Linked DNA regions of Homo sapiens: region 1 is linked to region 2. Evidence: promoter capture Hi-C in human tissues and cell types (Jung and others, 2019). All regions are on one chromosome and are shown on one strand. The core of a region is centred on a gene start or on the middle of the fragment in contact, and the rest is flanking DNA. Distances in the headings are between cores, read along the strand shown. Region 1 has its middle 49 kb from the start of TMEM132D. Region 2 holds the start of TMEM132D (transmembrane protein 132D).

Region 1 (5,438 bases), core at 1,202-3,701, 49 kb before region 2:
CTGGGAAGATTAAATAAAAGCACTTGTGAAATACCCAGATGCTCAATAATTATTGATGATTGTTGTTGTGTTGGCCTAGCAACAGTTCATGTTGGATATTCCAGAAATGCCTCTCCTCATTTTAGTAGATATTCATAATATTGTATGAGTTGTATATACTTCCACAGAATCATAGCATTTTTGGCCTGATCAGTATTTCAGCATCATGTTAGTTTAATGTTTTCTTGATGAGATCTTGATGAACTTCTTAATGTCTTAAGTAACTTGTCTCTAAATATTACTACTACTGCTGGGATCTCTTTTTATCCCTTTAAAATTTTTATTAAAGTTTATTTTTTCCATTACAGTGGGAGATGGTGCCAGGAAGGTAGTTATTGCTTGACAACTGTTAGTAAATGGTAGTAGTGATACATCCAATCTTACAATTTTGTGTGTTTTCTTCTAGGCAAGCCAGGTACTAGACATATCAATTATTGCTGTCATACCCTTCTCTTCTCTGGAATTCTCCTGCCCACCCACAGGTCTTTTGAAGGGTGTGCTTTGGCAGCTGAAGGTCAGATTATGCCTGCACAGGACACAATTGCACATCAAACCCGGAAGGAAGCAACTTTCAAATGAGACAGAGCCCAATACAGGCCTCTCTCTTGAGACTGTAAGCTGACACAGAGGTTGAGTCTCCCAGAGATCCTGCTCCTGTAGAGTGATGTACACTTGGAGGTGGTGGAGGAGGAACCTCAAATATGGGTAGTGGAGACACATGGCAGCTCGCGGTCCTCAAGAGAGGAAGTGACGGGGGTTGGTGAGAAGTCTCGCTGATGGCTGGGCACAAGCATGAGAGGCCACAGGCTCCTGCTGGGGAGGCCATGGAGTTTCCCTGCTCTCTTTATTTAGTTTAACTTTGGGTTCTGCAAGGTGGTCCCTGCTTTTGACTAAATTCCTTTTGTTGAGCTAGTTTGAGCGGGATTCTGTTCCTCACAATCAAAACTACACAAAGATAGGCTGGGTGCGGTGGCTCATGCTCGTAATCCCAGCAATTTGGGAGGCTGAGGCAGGAGAATTGCTTGAAACCAGAAGGCAGAGGTTGCAGTGAACTGAGATTGCACCGCTGCACTCTAGCCTGGGCAATAAGAGCAAAACTCCGTCAAAACAAACAAACAAACAAAAAAAAAAACCAACTACACATAGATGAGGAACCTTCACAGATGCTTTGCACAGCATGGGAATAGAGTTCATATCATGCCTGTAGAAAGTCATGCACGGTGAAGTGGCTGCCGTGTCATTACAAATCCTTCATAGCCAACTTTATAAGAATACACGTTTTTTCTTACTTGAAAACATTTCCTTTATTAAAAATCTGAAAAACACAGAAAACCTCAGAAACAAGCATGAATGTCACTGGTAATCATACGACTAGAAAACTAAAACCCCCAAATCTTGACTATTTGGTATATTGATTGGATTCTTTCTGATTAATGAAGATAAGTAATACTGGCTAGAAAAACAGATAAAGTCGAGTATCTCAGTGTTTTAACACAGTAAGTCTAGTTCTCCTTCACATTACAACACAACATGATTTGTCAGAGAGTCTTTTCTCTGTGTAGACAGAGAGTCTTTTCTCTGTGTAGACACTCAAAGATCCAGGCCCCTTCCACTCATGGCTTGAACCTTCTCCGGATCCCTTTCACAAGCCAGTCCATAAAGATTAAGGGGACCATGCATGAGTAGCTTTTAAGGGCCAGGCCTTCAGGTAACGTGTATCAGTTCTCTGCGTTTCATTGACCCATAATCCGTCACGTGATTCCATCTGGCTGTGGGGAGAGGGGTTGGAAATGCAGTCTTACTGTGTGCCCAGGAAGAAGAGAAGAACATTGACGGGGTGCAATTGCAGTGGCTGCACAATCTTCTGTTCTCGTTAACCTTCTACCCAGGGTGGTGGGCAGCAGGTGGTTCTTAGCTATATGAGATTTATAAAATGTATTAATTATTCTTGCCTATGGTATTAGTCAGCTGAGGCTGCCATAACAAATATACCACAGACTGGGTAGCTTAAACAGCACAGGTGTATTTTCTCATCATCCTGGAAGCTAGAAATCCCAGATTTAGGTACCCGCAGGTTTGGTTTCTAATGAGGGCTCTCTCCCTGGCTTGCAGATGGCCACCTTCTTGCTGTGTCTTCACACGGCCTTAACCCTGTGTGCACAGAGAGAAAGGGAGAGAGAGAGAGAGAGAGATCTGATGTCTCTTCCTCTTATAAAGACATTAGTCCTATTGAATTAGGTTCTCATCCTTATGATCTTGTTTAACTTTAATTACCTCTTTAAAGACTCTAAATATTGTCACATTGGAGGTTAGGGATTCAACCTATGACTTTGGGGGGGCACAATTCAATCCAAAACAGCTGTTGAGCATTGCTTTTCTCTACTTCTGTCAACAATGCTTTGCTTTTACTTTGGGGAACCATCTTACTTTCAAGCCAAGTTCATGTCATTTGTTTAAGGCTAAAACACTCCCAACATCTGGCTCCAGAAGATGGCACGTATCCCAGACTTGGCCAGTTGGCCTATTCTGCACCCTGGATTATTGGGCATGGATGAGCTGCTCACCAGCTTGCAAAAGGCACGTCATCCCTCTGTGTCTCAATTTCCTCCTCTGTATTATGGAGAGGAGACTTGTATTAATTAGAAACACAGTCATTGCTAATAATTTATATAATTGGTTATTTTTCTCACAAAGCAGAAGTGCTGAGGCATTACTTCAGTGGCTCAGCTACATCCAAGGGCCATACGGAATTGGTCCAAGTTGGGCATGTTACCCAAACATGCCAATGAAATACAATTTTGGAAATTTTGCAGGGGACATTTAAGAAGTGCATTCATTTCCTAGGTCTGCCGTAATAAATTACCACAAACTGGGTGCCTTAAGACAACAGTGATTTATCATCTCACAGTCTGAAATCAAGGAGCGTAAGTGTTGGTTCCTCCTGGAGTGTTTTAGGGAGAATGCGTCCATGCCTCTCTCCCAGCTCCTGGTGGGTGGCTGCTGTCAATCCTTAGCACTCTTCAGCGTGTAGACGCATCACTCCAATCTCCGCTTCCATCTTTTCATGCCTTCCCTTCTATGTGGCCTCTTTTTTTTTTTTTTTTTTTTTTTTGGCCTTCTCTTCTGATACTTGTCATTGCATTTAAGGCACATCTTAATCCAAGAGGATCTCATCTCAAGATCCTTAACTTAATTACACTGATGAAGACACCTTTTTTTCCAAGTCAGTTCACATTCACAGATTTCAGATTGACATATCTTAGGCAGATGGGAGGGGTGGGGACCATTACATCTAATATAGGAAACAATGGTCTCTTTCATCTGGAATTACTCTAGAAAAAGAGGTAAACCAAGAGCTGGCTGGGGCCGCCATGAGGAGAAGGCTTGCCTGAGAGTCCAGCTAGCACACTCAAAAGCAGATTGTGTGGCTCCGGTCCAGAAAGTTTAAAATGTGGTCTCATCTCCATTCTGCTGTGGATCAGAGGGTGCACACCAGCAACCCGCAGGCAGACTGCATCAGGACTCCATCTGCACAGCGGCTGGGATGTATGCCTCATTCTCACACCACATCCCCAACATCACCTCTGCCATTATTCCTGTCTGCATGGCTTTTAAATCCAGAGAGTCTGTGAGTTGCCCAAGGTCCTCTGAATAAATCTCTTCTGCTTAAGTTAGCTAAACTTGGTTTCTGTTGTTTGCAGCTCACAGCCTAACAAATACAGCATGCGTCAACAGAAACTCAAACCTGCTTGGATCTCAATCCACTGTCTGGAGTCAATGGCCTTCCCACTGAAAATAGCTACATCAAACTGGGTCCTGCAGAGCGGGAGGAGCCCCAAGCTCCTTGTCATTCCCGCTGCACTACCACCAACACTCTGAAGTTTCTGGTCAAAGCTATTGATCATCTGCTTCCATTTAATGTGTTCTAGAGAAACCAGCAGTTTAAGAACAGGACAAGTTGCACATCTTTAAGAACTTTATTTTTTAATCTCTCTGTGTTTCAATTTCCTCATTTGCAAAATGGGAGTAATATTAAGATTCCCTTCTCCAAGGCTGTCATGTGTATCTGAAGTAGCATATGAGAAGTTCTAATCAGAACATCTGCCACATGATAAGTGCTCAGTGAATCCTAGCTGATTCTGGTTTTCATTTTATCCACATACACACCTGCAGTAAAGTGAAAATCAGTTTTCCTTAACCTTTTTTAACAGGCTGACCTAGGGGGGACCCAACCATCCTGATATTCCAGGACTGAGAGGTTTCCTAGGATGTGAGATTTTCCAGCACTAAACTTAGAGGATTCAGGGACAAACCAGCCCAGTTGATCATCCTAAATCTAAGGTTACTATTGAGTTTTTTGAAATATTCATGTGTTGACGAATAAAATCTTTTCACTTTCAAATGATAGACAATGAACTCTAGTTTGCTTAATAAATAATCATCCACTTGTTCACTTAATGGGAAGTGTAGACTTCAGAAAGTCCTGGCTTTAGGGAGGGTAGGAATTGGAGGCTCATAAGATGTGGTTAGAAACCTGTGCTACTGTCTATTCCTCAGTACTGCTTTCCTCATGCGGGCTTCATTTTAAGACAGGCTGTCTCTCAGGAGAACAAATTGTGATTGCCACTTCTGGTTGTCTTTCTGCTGGCTCATTCAAATCAGCATTGGGAAGGTAAGCTTGTCTCTCCCATCATATCTTCAGCTCAAGGGCCAGGGCAGACCCTCACAGACTTCACTTTGGTCCTAGGCTAATGCCTGACTCAGCTAATATTTTGTATTTTTTTTTTAAGAGTCGGGGTCTCACTATGTTGCCGAGACTAGTCTTGAACTCCTGCACTCAAATGATCCTCCCTGCTTTGGCCTCCCAAAGTGCTGGGATTACAGGTATGAGCCACTGTGCCTGGCCCCTTTTCTATCATTTTTAACAAGTGTCAGAATAATTTATTTTCTTTGACGTTGGCCATCCATAGTTGACTAATATCAAGAGTTATTTTGCTTATGGAGGAATATTTTGATCACTGGGCTGGTGCTCAAATTTCCATTGGAAATTTCTAATGGAGACAAGTCTCCATTGCATAAGAGACTTGACTCCAACTGGCATAAGAAGAAAAGGAGATTTTTGTGGTTCATACAGTTGGAAACTCCATGGATCATCTTCATATTATGTATGGTTCAATCTACGAGCACGGAAAAAATAGCATCAGAGTCTGATTTCCCCCAAATGCTCCTCATTGTCACAAGATGGCTGCTGCAGGGGAGAACTCTACATGTTCTCCCCTTCAGGACAAAGAAAGAACCTGCCTCACTCCTAAAAGCTCAGCACAAGTCTCACTGCACCTGTTTAGCTCTCATTGGGCCATGCAACATGACTAAACCCACCATGGCTAAGGCAATGGGAT
Region 2 (5,428 bases), core at 2,848-5,347:
CCCCTGAAAGGGAGGCACATCCCTTCCTCCCAGGTTCTTTTGGACATAACCATAGCGACAGTTAACCTTAGGAAGGCCAGGGCATGTGGTCTGGCTGTGTCTCCAGCAGGTAGAGGAAGCAGGGGTGAGGGAACATGCTTCTGTCACAGGTTCCAGTGCATGCAAAATCCAGGCAGTCTTTACAACAAAGGGTTTCCTGCAGAGGCAGCCTTGCAGCTTCTCCTTGACCTCACCCCTGACCGAGAAACACTCAGGGACTAATCAGGCTAGAGGTACAAATACATAATTTGTACCAAGAAGTCCAGCATGTGACTTCAAAGAAGACTATTCAAGGCCTGCTGACCTTTCTGTATTGATCCATAAATCAGTAACTTAAGGAAAATGCAGCAGTATCCTATTGGTCTTTGCAGAAGAGGCTGCTCTGCGAGGTTCACCTGGCAGTTACCTGGTGACACCATGGGTCACCTGGGAGAGCACGAATATTCCAACTTTTTAACATCTGCTTGTGGAGCTCTGGGAAGAGATGAGAAAGGGAGAAGGACAGAGAGAGGAGAGTAAAAGTAGGTCTGGATTTTAGTATGGTTAACCTGGAAGAACCAAGAAGTTTGATGATTTAACACAATAAAAATTAATTTCTTTTACCATACTTCTTAATGTGGATTGACGGGGGACTTTGCTCTCTCATCAACTTGCTGGACTGCTGGCTGGAAGGCTCACCTTGTAGCAGCTGCACCATCTCAAACACAGGGTCCACTCTTCTCCCAGGGCAGGGCAGGTGCAGAATGAGGAGTCACAGGTGAGCTTTTCACTGCCCCACCAGAGAAATGACCCCCATGACTTCTGCTCACATTTAGTTGGTCAACTGCAAGGGGCTGAGAAGAGTAGTCATCCATGCGCTGGGAAGGAGAGAGTGACAGGTCTTGGCAAACACACACCTTCCTCAAGGGCACAGCATGGATTCCGCTGAGGTGCTCCTTCTGGAAGGATGATCTCCTGCTGGCCTTACCAGGAAGGGTGTGCAATGTTCCCAGTGTTTACAGTGCCCTCAACATCAGAAGGCTTTCCCCACTAGTGAAAGAGACAGTTGATTGAACCAGGCCTTTCTATTTCCCAGTCATTTCATGAATTTTGGAAAACTGGGAAGACAGGGAGTTTCAAAAAGTCTCTTCTGCATCTTCAGGAGGGATTGATCTGGTAGCTCTCACTTCATGCTAAGGTTTCCCAAACTTCATTTCTCACCATCTTCCGGAGTATTGTCATAGAGAGAAGACGGTGCCTGCACCCGTGTCAGTAGTGATTGCTAAATCCATTACTCATTTCCCATCTTCATAAACATACATAACTTGATATTTTTTAAACAAAATGCATCACCAAGTAAAAGGAGAGAAAACAAAAATAATAATAATCAAAATAAAAACAAATCGATGTTAGTAACTTGAGCTAGATGTTGTCATTGTGCAGAAAGAGCTTCCTTTTTTGTTTAAAAAACATGGACATTTGCAATTACTAAAAGGCTGTTCCGGAGTAGCTCAGGCCTGAGCCTTTCTCCTGGATGCAGTCAGAAGGACTGGAAGAGAATGGCTTCAGTTTTACAGGAGGCCCCATCTTTAGAGGGCCTGAAAGTGTCCTCTCATCCACCAGTGGCATAGCCCCTGCAGTACTTGAATTCCAGCTCCTTTCTGCCTTTATCAACGCTCAAAGTTGCCATTTCTCAAAAACTGCTACAGGGAATGTTTTTGTTTTATTGAAAAATAACAACAAAAACTGCTTAGTGTAAAAGCCTCATCCACACAGCATGAACAATTAGTGCAATTTAATTACCGACAAAATTAGGCTTACAGCTTGATTTATGGCCCCGCAGATGAAACACATATTCTTGGAGGAAAGCAGATTTCTTACAAGTAACTTGAGAGAGACAAGGCAGGCGATTTTGATGGGAAGTTGTCCTGGGGCAGGGGCTGGAGTTAGGGACCTATGAGCCCTCAGTGTCCATCTCCAAGTCTAAGTTTTGCTTCCCCACAATTAGCTGTGTTAATTACCCAAAGAAGATTAGATGTACCAGGGAGAATGGCATACTGGAGAGAGAAAAAGTAAGAAGCCATTCTTGCATCTTATTTTAGCCACTGATTAGGTATCTGAAGTTGCATCTTCCCAAAAAATCTTCCATACCAAAGAGTGGAAAAAACTTTTGTTTCGCCAACTACGCATAATGAAGAAACCGTTTAACATTTTAGGCAGCAGCTGGAACTTGACAGTCACCTTTTGTCTTCACATTACAGATAGAGAAACCTTCTGCAATGGCAAAAAGAAAAGTTATTTGATGATTGCAATTCAGGGGAAAAACTCAATTTGATTTAGAGAAACATAAAATGATTGTTTTTAATAAAGAACAGGGACCACTTGTTTCTAGTCAATATGTCTGAGAAATGTCTTACAAATAGACTCAGTGTCACAAATAGATGATTTACAAATAGACTCAGACCCACTGTAGCGTTAAGGATGGAACCTGGATTATGCATTCAGTGCGGGCATCAATTTTGACACTCAGAGACCAGGTGAAGGTGTCCAAGAGACGAAAGCTCAGCTCTCTCATCACTCAGGTGAAGGAGAAAGGGGACCAGTGGTTCCAGCACGTGTTCCGCAGGCCGGCAGCATCAGCATCACCTGGAACTTTTTAGGAACGGAGATCGGAAGTCCCACCTTGACCTGCCGAGATAGCTCTGGGGTGGGCCCAGCAACCCAGGTCTAACAAATTTTCCAGTGACTCTCCTGCTGGTTCAAACTTCAGAAACAGTGAAAGAGACAATCTCTTAGGGTCTTTGCAGCGTCGACTCTTAGGAATTTTACAGGAGAGCAATACAAAGAGAAAAGGCAACAAGTTTAAGAAACAAACAAAAGAAAAAACAGAAAGACAGATATATTCAGATAAGTAGATACAGAATAAAAGACAAGAGCACATCTCAAAGGACATGAACCCAGAAAAACAATCTTCGGTAGAACAGCAGTGGCTTTTTTGATCTTCCTTGAAACTTTGAAAGCTAAAAACTCTTAAAGCATTGGTATATTTCTGCAACTACAGGCATACAGGATAAAAAAGTCCATTGCCCCCTCAGTCAGATGATAACGACCCATTTTTATCTACTGAGGTGAATTCACCTCATTAGATTCAGGGCTTGTTGGTTTACAATATTCCTTAAAAATTCTGAATGCTTTTCTTCCCTCTGAGCTTTGATGGGGTTAATTTAAAGGCTCTCGTGGAGCAAAGCAGTTCTTGGGCTACAAATTACAGGACGGTGCTTAGGGATCTTGGTGTGGGAATGTCTTAGTTGGAGATTCCGGGCGGTGTTGAGAATCATGTCTTTTATCTTCTCAAAGCAATGTTGTCTCCTAATGGATCCATTTCCTTTCCCAGTGAGCCCTGGGGAGCACACGACATGTTTCTAGGGACACTAACTTGGGGGATCGCTCTGGGAAGGGGCTTGGGGCCAGCATGACCTCAGTGTGGCGTGTCAGAGACTTCCTCACTGCGATCCCTGGGAGATGCGCAGGGCGGGGCGAGGGCCCTTCTCCAGCCATCCTTGCGCTCTCCCTGGCGAAGAGCCTCAGGTGCCCCCGGGCTGGAGGACCTCCCCTGGGCCTGAGGTTTTGATGACGACGAGAGGCCGGTGGCCAGCTGGACACCTGTTGGGAGAGTGGGTGGCTCCGTCCCCGGGGTGCGCCCGCGCTGGGAGCCCTCGCCCGCCGCCACCGCGCGTCCGCGCTCGCAGGGAGGGTGGCCGGGAGGCTGGGCGTGGGGCGGCCAGGGGGAGGTGGGATTTACTTTGCGGATTGGGGCTCACAGCTGTCACTCCGAAAGGGTGGGGCTTTTTAAAAGCAGACAAATTTTTAAGGCGAAAGCCCCAGCCGGCTCCGGGCACCGTGGCGATCGCCTCCGTTCCGTTCCGGATGCGGTCCTTGCGGAGCGGAGCCCCCGCGCCTGCTGGCAGGAGGCAGCTGCGTTGCTCGGCCGCGTCCCCGAGCCGGCGGGCCCTCCTCCGCGCACATCTGGCCCGCCTCCCCCGGGCGCAGGGGGGAGCCCCGCGTCTCCGGAGCCTGCAGTGCGCTCGGCGCGCGTAGAGCCCCGCGAGCCCCAGCCGGGCCCGGGGCCGGGCGGGCCGAGGCGGCGGCCGGGGAGCAGCCGCACCCGCCAAACTTTGGGTGCCGGAGCGCGCGCGCGCCCGAGCCCCGAGGCGCAGCGGCCGGCCTGGGATGGGGGCTGCGGGCCAGGGAGCCCCGGGCCGCCCAGCGAGCCCGGCCACCCGCCCGGGGGGCTCCGAGCCGCCTCTGCCCGCGTCCCGGGCTCCGCAGCCCCGCCACCCCGGCGCCGCCTGCGCCAGCGCCCGCTAGCCAGCCCGGGAGCAGCTGGAGCCGCCGGAGCCCTGCGCCTGGAGGCGCCCCTCCTTGGGCCACCGGGGGCCACTCTTCGCTCGGGTAAACAGGAAAGGAAATACCCCCTGTGGATTAAAATTTAAAAAAAATTCTGTTGGGGTCGAAGGAGGGAGGTGGGGTTTGCCTGCGCGCGTGTTGGACTCCGGAGAGCAACTCAGGAGCCCGCGCGGTCGTCGCCTCCCGGCCTGGCCATGGACTGGCGGGAAGAGGGAGCAGGGCGCCCGGGCTGCTCGGGCCCCTAGCCGGGCGCTCCCTCGCCACCGGCCCCGCTGCGGGCCTCTAGGGGACTGAGACGGTCTCTTGTTCGCCTGGACGGCGCCGGGGAGCGGAGGATCTGCGCTCCGGGTCTCCAGGATGTGCCCGTCTGAGATGGGGACGCTGTGGCACCACTGGTCGCCGGTACTCATCAGCCTGGCCGCCCTGTTTTCCAAAGGTGAGGACGCCGCGGCCGCCAGGGCCCGGGGACTAACTTCGCCTGGAGTGAGTGTGTGGGAGTGTGTGGAGGATGGGGGCGGCCGGGAGAGAGGGCTCGTGTGCAAGTGTGTGTGCGCGCTTGTGTGCATGTGTGTGTGCGCGCGTGTGAACGTGCGCTCGTGCGGCAGCCAAGCTCCTCGGACGCCCCTTGGCCGAAGGTGCTTGTCCTGGAGCACTTGGGTGGGAGGCCTTAGGTGAGACTACTAAGGAGCCGAAAGGAAAGGAAGGCTGTTTCCTGAAAGCCTTTTCTGTAAAGGGAGAGGGCGTGGGGACCCTTGAGAGGAAAGGTGGCCTCTGGAGGGCCGAGCCGGCTGTCGGGGGAGGAGGGGATTGAGATGACCAGGGAGATTTCTGGAATTTGGGATTGACTTTCCCTGGTGGCACTGACCTATTTGGAAATAATTTTGGAGCACTCCTGTTGTATGGGAATACTATTTTGTGTATTATAGGCTGCCAAAAATATAGCCTGGGGGGCGGCTCTGAAGAAGGGGGATGGGTTTCTCCAGGTCTGCCGCTGTGAGGTTTG

What was found. Contacts are between HindIII fragments. The study calls those that stand out against the background at their distance.
Region 1: a fragment that was not itself captured here is called in contact with the fragment with the promoter of TMEM132D in region 2 in 3 of the 25 tissues and cell types used here (aorta, spleen and stomach).

What each region holds. Positions count from the first base shown.
Region 1 is chr12:129,950,509-129,955,946 of GRCh38, reverse strand. No RefSeq gene overlaps it. Among named protein-coding and RNA genes, the nearest start is that of TMEM132D, 49 kb to the right of the region's middle. The HindIII fragment of the contact is 7,079 bases long and covers 1-5,438 here.
Region 2 is chr12:129,902,694-129,908,121 of GRCh38, reverse strand. It overlaps TMEM132D (transmembrane protein 132D), which reads left to right and starts at 4,097. Exons shown (of 9, transcript NM_133448.3): 1 at 4,097-4,861. The coding sequence starts at 4,783. The HindIII fragment of the contact is 10,076 bases long and covers 1-5,428 here.